2 separate regions of the Homo sapiens genome follow, and region 1 is linked to region 2. Evidence: promoter capture Hi-C in human tissues and cell types (Jung and others, 2019). All regions are on one chromosome and are shown on one strand. Each heading gives the region's core, a stretch centred on a gene start or on the middle of the fragment in contact. The rest is flanking DNA. Distances are from core to core; before and after follow the strand shown.

Region 1 (4,217 bases), core at 1,686-4,185, 340 kb before region 2:
ACCCTAGGAGGTAGGTACCATCACTATCACCCCCATATTACAGTTGAAGATGAGTGATTCAAGATAGGTCAGGCACCAAGCTCAAGGTCACACCATTAGCAATAGACTCCTCAGGAGCAGAGCTAATGTGAATGAACGTGGCTGGCCCGGCGCCGGGGGCAGATACCTGGGAACAGCCATGAGCTTTGTGATGATCAAGGGGCAATCTGTGTGTGTGCTTGGTGGGATCTTGCAGAGGTTGGAAGAGGCCAGAGAAGACTCCACCAGCTCTTGCTGAAAAAGTCTTGCAGCCTCCCCTCAGCCCTAAAACCTTCCCGGAGAGGTGTGGGGGAGCACAGAACAGGAAGGTGGGGGTGGAGGGAGGAGGGTGGGGCTGTGAGGAGGGAGGGAGGGAGGGGGTTCTCCTTCTAAGCCTCCATCCAGTCCCATTTTATTCTCACAACAGGTTATCAAAAGGAAACTCAGAGAGGGGAAGTGTTTCAGCCAAGGTCACACAGCAAAGGCCCAGTTTCTGGATCTCAGTCCTCCCTTGTCTCATCTTTTCCACTCTGGGGATCCAGAAGTCATTGGCCCAGCCTCCCGCTGTGTGTAGGGGGAGCTCATGCTCTGGGGGTGGGAGAGACCGACCTGTCAGTGACTTGAAGGGTGATCGGTTTGGGGGTGGCAGACACGAAGTCCTGGTAGGAGGAACCCACCAGCCTCCCACCCACCAAGGCTGAGTGTGTGGGCTTCAGGGGCAACAGCAGCTGAAAGGAGGCAGGTTCTCAGAGGACAGTGACCAGTGGCCACCCACTCCCACCAGTCAGGGCAACTGAGAACTATGGGTCCACTGAGTTTGGCAAGTTAGGGGTTACTGGTGACCTTGGCCAGAGCAGTGCCAGAGAAAATGCGGGGAGGAGGAGACAGAGGACAGATGTCTGTCTGCATCCTATAGAAATGAGGGGATGAAGATAACCTGGAAGGGTGACGGGTGCGGAGACCAGGGGAGTGGGCTCTAGGGCATGCCAGCAGGGAACACCCTTGCTTCCCTGAAAATAGGGAAAACTGAGTGCAGGGTGTATGGGAACTCTCTATACTATCTTTGTAACTTTTCTGTAAATCTAACACTGTTCTAAAATAGAAAGTTTATTTAAAAATGTTGATGGCAAGAGGTGAGAGTGGGCGTGGCTGGAGAGTTTGTAGGTGGCTGGTGGGGAGGCAGGAATTTGAGGAAGGAAGAGCTTAGATGCATTTAGGGCTTCTGTTTTTTGGATGCAAAATTGAGTGTGCAGGAGGCTGGGGGGTGAGGGGAGCGGGGGGGGCGAGGAGCTGTGAGCTAGGACAAATCAAAGGAAGCTGGAAGAGGCTGAGGCCACAGATGCTCATGGCCAGCCATCTGCTGCCCCTCCCCGGCTGCAGGGTCTCCCTCCTCACCAGAATCAGGCTCTTCATGCCTAAGGGTGGGGGATGGCTGAAGCTCTGTCCCTCCATGGCTCTCCCCACTTCCCTTCCCCACCATGTGTCACCCACTCCCTTAGGGATCCCCATGGCAGGCCAACCACACCTACTGGCCAGTTGGTCTAGGGCACAGGGCCTGGCTGTGTCCCTGCCTGGGTGCCTCACTCTAGTGGTGGCCATGGAGAAATTGCCATGGCCTGTGGTCCCTAGACATAGTGGGCACTGACTTCCCAAGGCAGGGGCCTGTGAGTATTTTGAGTTTTAAGAGGGTTCTCCCAACTCCAAAGCGCCAGGAACACTGCCACATAGGCAGCCCTGCTCTCCTTCTCTTGGCATAGCCAATTACCCAACGCAGAACTCGGAGGCCTGGCTAGAACCACCTCCTCCTCCGCGGTGCGGTTGGGACCAGGTGAAGTTTGCTCAGGGAGGTCGAGGTTGGAGGCTTTGTAGTGGTGGAAAAGGCTTCTAAGCGCTGTGGACGGTTTCAGGGTCCCAACCTAGCAAGGAACGGAGTTCTGGAAGGCCCTGGCATGGTGTCCACTCCCTTGCAGGGGGTACTTTTCTGAGGCCCCCTCCCGTTCTGTGCTTAGAGCTTTAGGAGATAAAGGTGCCAAGAGGCTGGCCCTGAGCGTCCTTGGAGGAGCCCTGCCGTGGGAGTCTGGGGTTAGATGCTGCTTCCGGAACTCTACTTGGGACTCCTCTGGGAGGCGTGAGGCTTGAGAGAGAATGCAAAGGATCTCCTAGCTGGCCCCATCTGAGAGGGCACAGGCGTGGAGGGGAGGAGAGGCCTGGAATGGAGGGATAATGAGCTGGGTAGGGGCTGAGAATGGCCTGGAATAAGTGGTCATGGAGCCGAGATGGGGGGCTGTGGTTGGGAATTGGGAACTGGGATCAGGATGAGACTGGGATGGGTTGGACTGAAGATGTGCCGTGACACATGTTGGGGGGGACACGTGCTAAGCATGGGGCTGAAGCTGGGATGGGAAAGCAACTGGGGTGGATTTGAGGGTGGGATGCAGATGACAGTGGATATGATGGGATAGACTAGGCAAGGACCTCTCAGGGAAAGGAGACGGGCCAGGGGTGGGGTGTTGTGTGAGCTGGGTTGGGATGAAAATGGGTTTAACATGAGGTGGGACGCACCAGGAATGGAGATCAATGAAGCAATGGGTGGGGCGGAACCGGATTGGGACGGGGGGTGGGCGGGGGGAGGTGGGGACGGGACTGGGTTCGGGGCTGGAAGGAGGGCTAGCGCCGAGGTTACGGACGGGGCAGGTGAGGGTTCGGGACGTGGGTGGGGCTGGCCCTGGAGCGGCGCGCAGGGGCGGTGGGTGAGGGGCGCCCGGGGCAGGCCGGGAAGGGGGGGCGGGCCTCCCCCTGGGCCGGGCCGGGGCGGCGCTAGGACCGAGCGAGCGGAGGGAGCGAGCCGGGCGGAGCCAGCGCCCCCCGCCCCCCGCCGGCCGGCTCCCCTCCCCCGGCCGCTGGCTCGCTCGGCTCGCGACGCTGCAGAGGCTCCGAGGCGGCGGCGGCGACTCCCTCTTTCCCTCCCTCCTCCTCCGTCCGCCCGTCCGTCCGCGCGTCTGTCCGTTCGGCCCGGTCCGGCCCGAAGCATGGCCGGCGTCAGCTTCAGCGGCCACCGCCTGGAGCTGCTGGCGGCTTACGAGGAGGTGATCCGAGAGGAGAGCGCGGCCGACTGGTGAGCCCCCCGCCCCCGCCCCCGGCCCCTTTGTCCCCGCGCCGCCGCCGCGCCTTTGTTTCTCTCCCGCCCCGCCGCCCCGCCGCCGGGAAGGGAGGGGGACCCCGAAATGGTGCAGCGGGCCGGGAGGGCCGGGAGGGGCTGCCTTTGTGCGCGCCGGGGGAGGGGCCGGCGGGCCAGGCGGGGCACTGCCGGGCCCCGAGCGCCCGGAGGCGGCCCAAGGCGCGCGGTGGGAGCGGCGGCCGGACGCGGCCCGGAGGCGCGGGGTCCCGATGTGGGGCCCGGGGCCGCGTGGCCCTGCGGGAGCCCATCCCCCACCCTACCCCCCGGGCCCGGGGGACAGGTGTGCACGGGGCGGCCAAGGGCACCTTCGCCACCTTCGAGCGGGCGAGGTCCGGGCGGGGACGGGGCGGGGACCGAGCTAGCGGAGCCAGCGCAGCCTGCCCGGCTCAGCCCGGCCCGGCCACAGCACAAAGGAAAGCGAGGGCGGGGGAGGAGCGGAGCGGGCTGGGGGCCGGGCGCCCCGCCCACCGGGGGGCCTCTCGGAGTGGGCCGCCCTCCCCCCGAAACCTGGGCTGGAGTGAGGTGGAAGGATGTTTGCTGCCACATGGCGACCGCGAAGTGACTCCCTTACCGCCGCGGGTCGCGGAGGAGGCAGGGGTGAGCTCTCCTCCCCTACCTGAAGGGGACTGCGGGGACTAGGCAGCTGGGCTGGGGGGCACCGAGCTGCCTAAGGGGCCAGCTGAGATCCCTGGGAGGAAGCCCTCTGGAGAACAAGTGTGGAGGGAGCCCCCAAAGACGGCTGAAGGGGTGAACAGATCCACCGGCCCCCAGCAAGGGGCACTCGGTCCCTGATGGGGGAGGAGCTGGGCCGCCCCTCACCCCGCCCCCCAGCTGTTGTCTCCCGCTGAGCTGGGGGAGGGGATGGACCACCTGCTCTGGGGCTGGCGGCCCAGGGTGGTGGAAAAAGGAAACCGAGGGGTTCCTCACAGCCCCATCCTGGAATCCTTTAACCCCCCCGTAATACTCTTCTTCTAGGGAAGGTGCCCATCTGGTTCCTAGGCCTCCTCTCCCTGCTGGCAGA
Region 2 (4,638 bases), core at 1,035-3,534:
TTTAAGTTGTACCAAAAACTGCTTACAAATGGCAATTCCTGTGAAGTAGATGATGATGAAGTTCCAGGTAATTCTAGCATGTTTCCTAATGTACTGGTACTGGAATCTGGATCATCCTGAAAAGATAAATTTATTGAGTTTAATTGCTCTTCTATTGTAATGTTTGTGTCTCCTAGTGAAAAGGGGGCTGGGAGAAGGGCTGCTTTTTCATTGCTGCCGTCCACTTCATTTCTTTGCTTATTTTTCTGTGTTTCAGTCTGAGGAGCTAATGGCAAGAATGGCGATTTGACTGCACCGTGTCTACTCTCTGGTGTGCTGTCTTGTTCACTTCCCATGGCCACTTTTACACCATTCTCTGATTTAGTCTCATAATTGCAGGTGGCATTGGTCTGAGTTTCCTCAAAGATCTCCTCTATACTCTCATCCTCTGTGACTGGCTGTTCTGGGTCCATTTCAGAATCTACATCTGCATCGTCCACACAAGTAAAATTCTCAAAGTGCAGAAAGCCATTCTTGATAGTCTTTGTTACTTTTACCTGGAGTTCAGGGGAGTTATTACAAGAGGGTTCCTGTTTCATAGCAAGTGCTGTAGGACCACCAGGACTCAAGGAAGTGCAAACAATTGGCGTCTGAGCTCTTGAATCACTTTTTTCAGGGTCTTGAAAGGATTCTGATCCATCAGCAGACCCATTTAAATACTCTACATTGATCATGGAGGCCAAATCCTGTAGTCTCCGCAGTGGAATGTAACAAGATGGAGAATCTTGTCCATAAGCATTTTGGGATGTTCCACTGACAGTCGATAACTGCATAGTACACCCATTAAGTGGCTCAGAAAAATTGGATTGACCATTACCGAAAGGGCTGTCCTTGTCTTCAGGGGCATCTAAATTCACTGGATTGGAAAAGGGCAGCAGACAATTTCTTCTGGGTAGTTCACAGGTCTGATCCATCCTGGGCCGGCATCAACCTGGAATCCAAAAGCACAGCAATTAATCTGAGTTAATAGGCCATCTGACTCGACTCTTTAAAATGGCAGCCACTTCAAGGCCTAGTGGCCTCTATGCCTTTCTGCTGCACTTCCATGGGCAGAAAAAGTTCCCCCGACTGGAGATGAAAAAATGGCCTCGATGAGCCTCTGAAAACTCCATTTTCCCGAAGCTGGGCCGATCCTGCTACATAGAAACAGCCCGTCTCTTTTTCCTCCTCTGTAGACTGGTGGACACTTGGGATGAACTAAAATTAAAACCCCTCTGCCCGTCAAAATTCCCAATTCTCAAACAGGACTAGTCCTCCCCCTCCCTCGCCAGGGGTCGAGCAGCTGGATCTCTCAAAAGCAAAAGGCTGCGGGGTCCGAGGGGGGCTCCTGGACCCTGCACAAAAAGGTACCCCCCCCTTCCTGGCTCGCTAGGGCGCAGCGGTCACAATAGCGCTGCACCCTGCGCCCAGCCAGCGCCGGAGCCTTTGCAGCGGCGGTGCGCAGGCCGCAGGCGAGCCGGCCGAGGCGGCTGCACCCCAGAGCTCGCCTTCCTGAATGCAGGCCTGCTGGATCCGCAGCTGCAGGGCGAAGAGGCCTGGACCCGGCAGAGGGAGAAACCGAGGCGGCCAGCGAAGCCCAGTCAGGGTAGCAGCAGCTGCTACAGCTCGAAAAACATGGCTGCTGCCGACGCCGCCGCCGCCTGCCCGGGCCGCGCTCCTTCCCGCAGCCGCGGCAGCACCTCCCAGCCGAGCCGATCGCTCTCATCAATATTCAGCAGCAAGCAAAGTTTGCTGCGGGAGGGCAGCCGGCCCCGCGCCCCGCAGCCTGCTACCTGAGGGGAGGCGGAGGCCGAGGTGTTCGCAGGCGGCCGGCGGGGCACGGGCCGCGCCGGGAGGAAGTTCGCGGCAGCCCGGCCAGCTAGGCCTGAGCCCGGCTGGTAGTGATGGAGGAGGGGGAGGGGGAGGAGGCCGGCGGCTGCAGCGCCGCCGGCCACCAACCCCGCATCGCGCCTGGCCCTCCCCCGAGCCCCTCACCTTACGGCCACCACCATCTTCCCCGCCCGGCCACCCTCCTCCCTCCCTTCTCCTCGCGCCTGCCCGCCGCCCACCCCAGCGCACTAGTTACCGTGCCCCGCGCCCCCTCCCGGGCCAGCTGGGGGGAGGGGGTGACCCTCATTACACTGGGGTGCGAGCGGAGCGGTGGGGAGAGAGCGGGGCCGCTCGCCGCACCCCCCTCCCCCCGCGTCTCTCTTCAGGGGAGAAGGCAGCGAGCGCGACCTGCCCCGGCCTATTCCGCCGCCGCCTCCTCCTCCTCACACCCCCACCGCGCGCGCCCCCGCGGCCGCGCGTGCGACCGAGCGCCTCGCGCCGGCCCGCGTGCGGCTGGGCCCCGAGTGCGCGCGCACCCCTTCCCCCACCGAGCGCGCGCGTTCCCTTCTCTCACTCTTCGGGGTTCAGGGCGGGTGAAGTCGGGCTTGTGAGAGCGCCGCCCAATCAGCGGAGCTGCCGCTGCCGCCCCCTCCCCTCCCCCTGCGCGCCCGCTCGCGGCCGGGGCCTACGGGCCGGCCCGGCTGCCCGGGCGGGGCCTGAGGCGGGCTCCCCAGGGGCCTCGCGCGCCTCCTTGGAGTGTCGGGGCCTGCGGGCGTCGTGGGTGGCATTCCGATCCCCTCACCTACCTCGGGGCACGGCGCTGGCCTCGGGCCGCACACGGCTCCCGCACCCTACGCGTCTCGAACCCCAACCCAGGCGGCACCTGGCGCGGCTGAGGCCTGTCCGATCGTCCCGCCAGCCCTGCTCGGGCCCGCGTCAGTCCCGGCCTCCATCTTAGGTTACAGCCCAGGCTCCCCATCCACTGGGCACCTGCCCTCAGCCCGCTGGGTTCGGCCCGAGGCCAAGGCAACCCCCCTCCTGCCGCAGGGCTCACCTGGGGGCTTGGGCTGGGGTCTTCGAGGCCTCAGGCCCCGAGCAGACGCGGCCGCAGGCGAACCCCCTACCCGGCCGCACCCCAAACCCACACCACCACCACCACCACCACCACAGACCAAGCTGAGCAGGAAACAAAATGGAGGCAGCAGCTCGGGTCTGCCTCCCTGAGCCAAGCCTGTGCAGCCCCAGGGCTCCCTCCTGTCTCAGGCTCGACGCCCGCGAGGCAGAGGCTGGATCGTCCCGGGTGCCGCGGGCAGCCGCCCTACAGCAGCGCAGACGGGCCGGGGACTCGGCCCTGCGGTGCCCACAGCCCCTCACCCACCACCCCTTCCCTTCCCCCTCCCCCCATCCCTCTCCCTCCCCTTGCCGGGCCGTGCGGGGTGAGCGGCTCTGGGGAGCCGGGTCGGGTTACCCGCCCCGGCACTGCTCGCCCGGCCGTGGCCTCCGCGGGGGAACGAAGCCAGGCGACCCCAGCGCTGAGCCCACCCCCGGCACCGAGCCGGGCTGCAGCCTGACAGCGCGTCCGCACCTCGGCCTGCAGCCGTGCGGCCCCCGCCCAGGGAGGCCGAGTCCCCAGCCCGGGCCCAGCCGGGACGAAGCTCCCTCACCACCCCCGAGCCCAGGGGTCCTCGCAGCCTCGGGCGGGGCGAGGGGAACGCCGGGGGAGGGGGTCCTCTAGTCCCTGCACCGCCTCCCGCGCCTAGTCAAGGTCTGGGCCTGGCACGGGGGCTCGGGCAGCGGGCGCCGGCCGGCGTGGGTATGTGCGTGCGCGCCGGGCTGGGGGCCGGGACGGGACGGGCCGCGCCTCGCACCGCGGACGCTGCAGTTCTCGGCACCCAGGCAGATGGCCCTCTCGTGCCACCGCCGCCCAGAGCGGGCCGCCTGCTCCGCAGCCCGGTTCCCCGGGGAGTGCGCGCCTCGCCCCTGAGGGCCGGGCATCTGGACCCCAGCGGAGCTGCGCCGGGACACGGGACCGCCCGGCTGGCCGGGACAAGCCCGCTGGCGCAGCCCTCGGCCTGGGGCCTCACGGCCTGCATCCTGCACCGGGCCCGCAGCACCGAATCTAGCACGACCGCGTGGCGTCCAATCCCCCAAGACAGCGGAAGGGCGGGACAGGGAGCCCAAGCTGGGCCTGAACTTGCGACTCCAGCCCCTCGGGCCCTTCCCCCAGCCCGGACTCCGTCGCCCCCTGGGCTTGATCCCCACCAAGAAGCTCACCTCAGGAGTTACCTGGTCCCTAGGGCGCTAAGCGCCTTCTCGCTGTTCAGAGAAAGCCGGATCCGGCCGCCATAAAAATTCCGCCTCCTCCAGAAAGCCTTCTGTGATTAGATTTGGAGTTAACTCCATCTCAAGCTGAGGGCACCGCCCTCGAGGGCCACGTGACTACTATTCTTCCCATGGCTTAGTAAATGTGCATAGTTATTGCCCCAGTGGACTGTTTACTCACTGCCTTCTGTTAACTTTGAGCCCACCTGGGAGAAAGGCCATTTTTGGCGTTGCCCTGTGTGACATTAGTGCTGGCCAGCTAAACTCCATCCTTCCCCTGCCTTCAGCCAGCGACTGGCCCAGCAGGCGTGGAGCTCGAGATGCTCTTACCCTTTTGCTCTCCAAGGCCCACAGTCCAGTGATGGAGGCTCCCAAGTCAACAGGCCCTTAGCACATGTCTGCAAGTGCCGGATGCAGACCCTGCCAAGACAGCAAGTGGGCTTTGTTAGAGGGAAAGTGCCCACTGGA

What was found. The method cuts DNA at HindIII sites, captures the fragments that hold promoters and counts their contacts. A contact is called where the count stands out against the background at its distance.
Region 1: a contact is called between the fragment with the promoter of DBN1 here and the fragment with the promoter of NSD1 in region 2, in 3 of the 25 tissues and cell types used here (dorsolateral prefrontal cortex, heart left ventricle and lymphoblastoid cells).

The regions. Positions count from the first base shown.
Region 1 is chr5:177,472,352-177,476,568 of GRCh38, reverse strand. It overlaps DBN1 (drebrin 1), which reads left to right and starts at 2,935. Exons shown (of 15, transcript NM_001363541.2): 1 at 2,935-3,133. The coding sequence starts at 3,048. RefSeq lists silencers at 2,698-2,747, 2,758-3,137, 3,218-3,417, 3,448-3,817, 3,737-3,923 and enhancers at 3,072-3,573, 3,574-4,077. The HindIII fragment of the contact is 16,715 bases long and covers 1-4,217 here.
Region 2 is chr5:177,131,419-177,136,056 of GRCh38, reverse strand. It overlaps NSD1 (nuclear receptor binding SET domain protein 1), which reads right to left and starts at 2,284. Exons shown (of 23, transcript NM_022455.5): 1 at 2,105-2,284; 2 at 27-970. The coding sequence starts at 953. RefSeq lists enhancers at 1,082-1,635, 1,636-2,187, 2,188-2,741, 2,955-3,249, 2,742-3,293 and 1 more and silencers at 1,649-1,948, 2,009-2,168, 2,249-2,918. The HindIII fragment of the contact is 15,853 bases long and covers 1-4,638 here.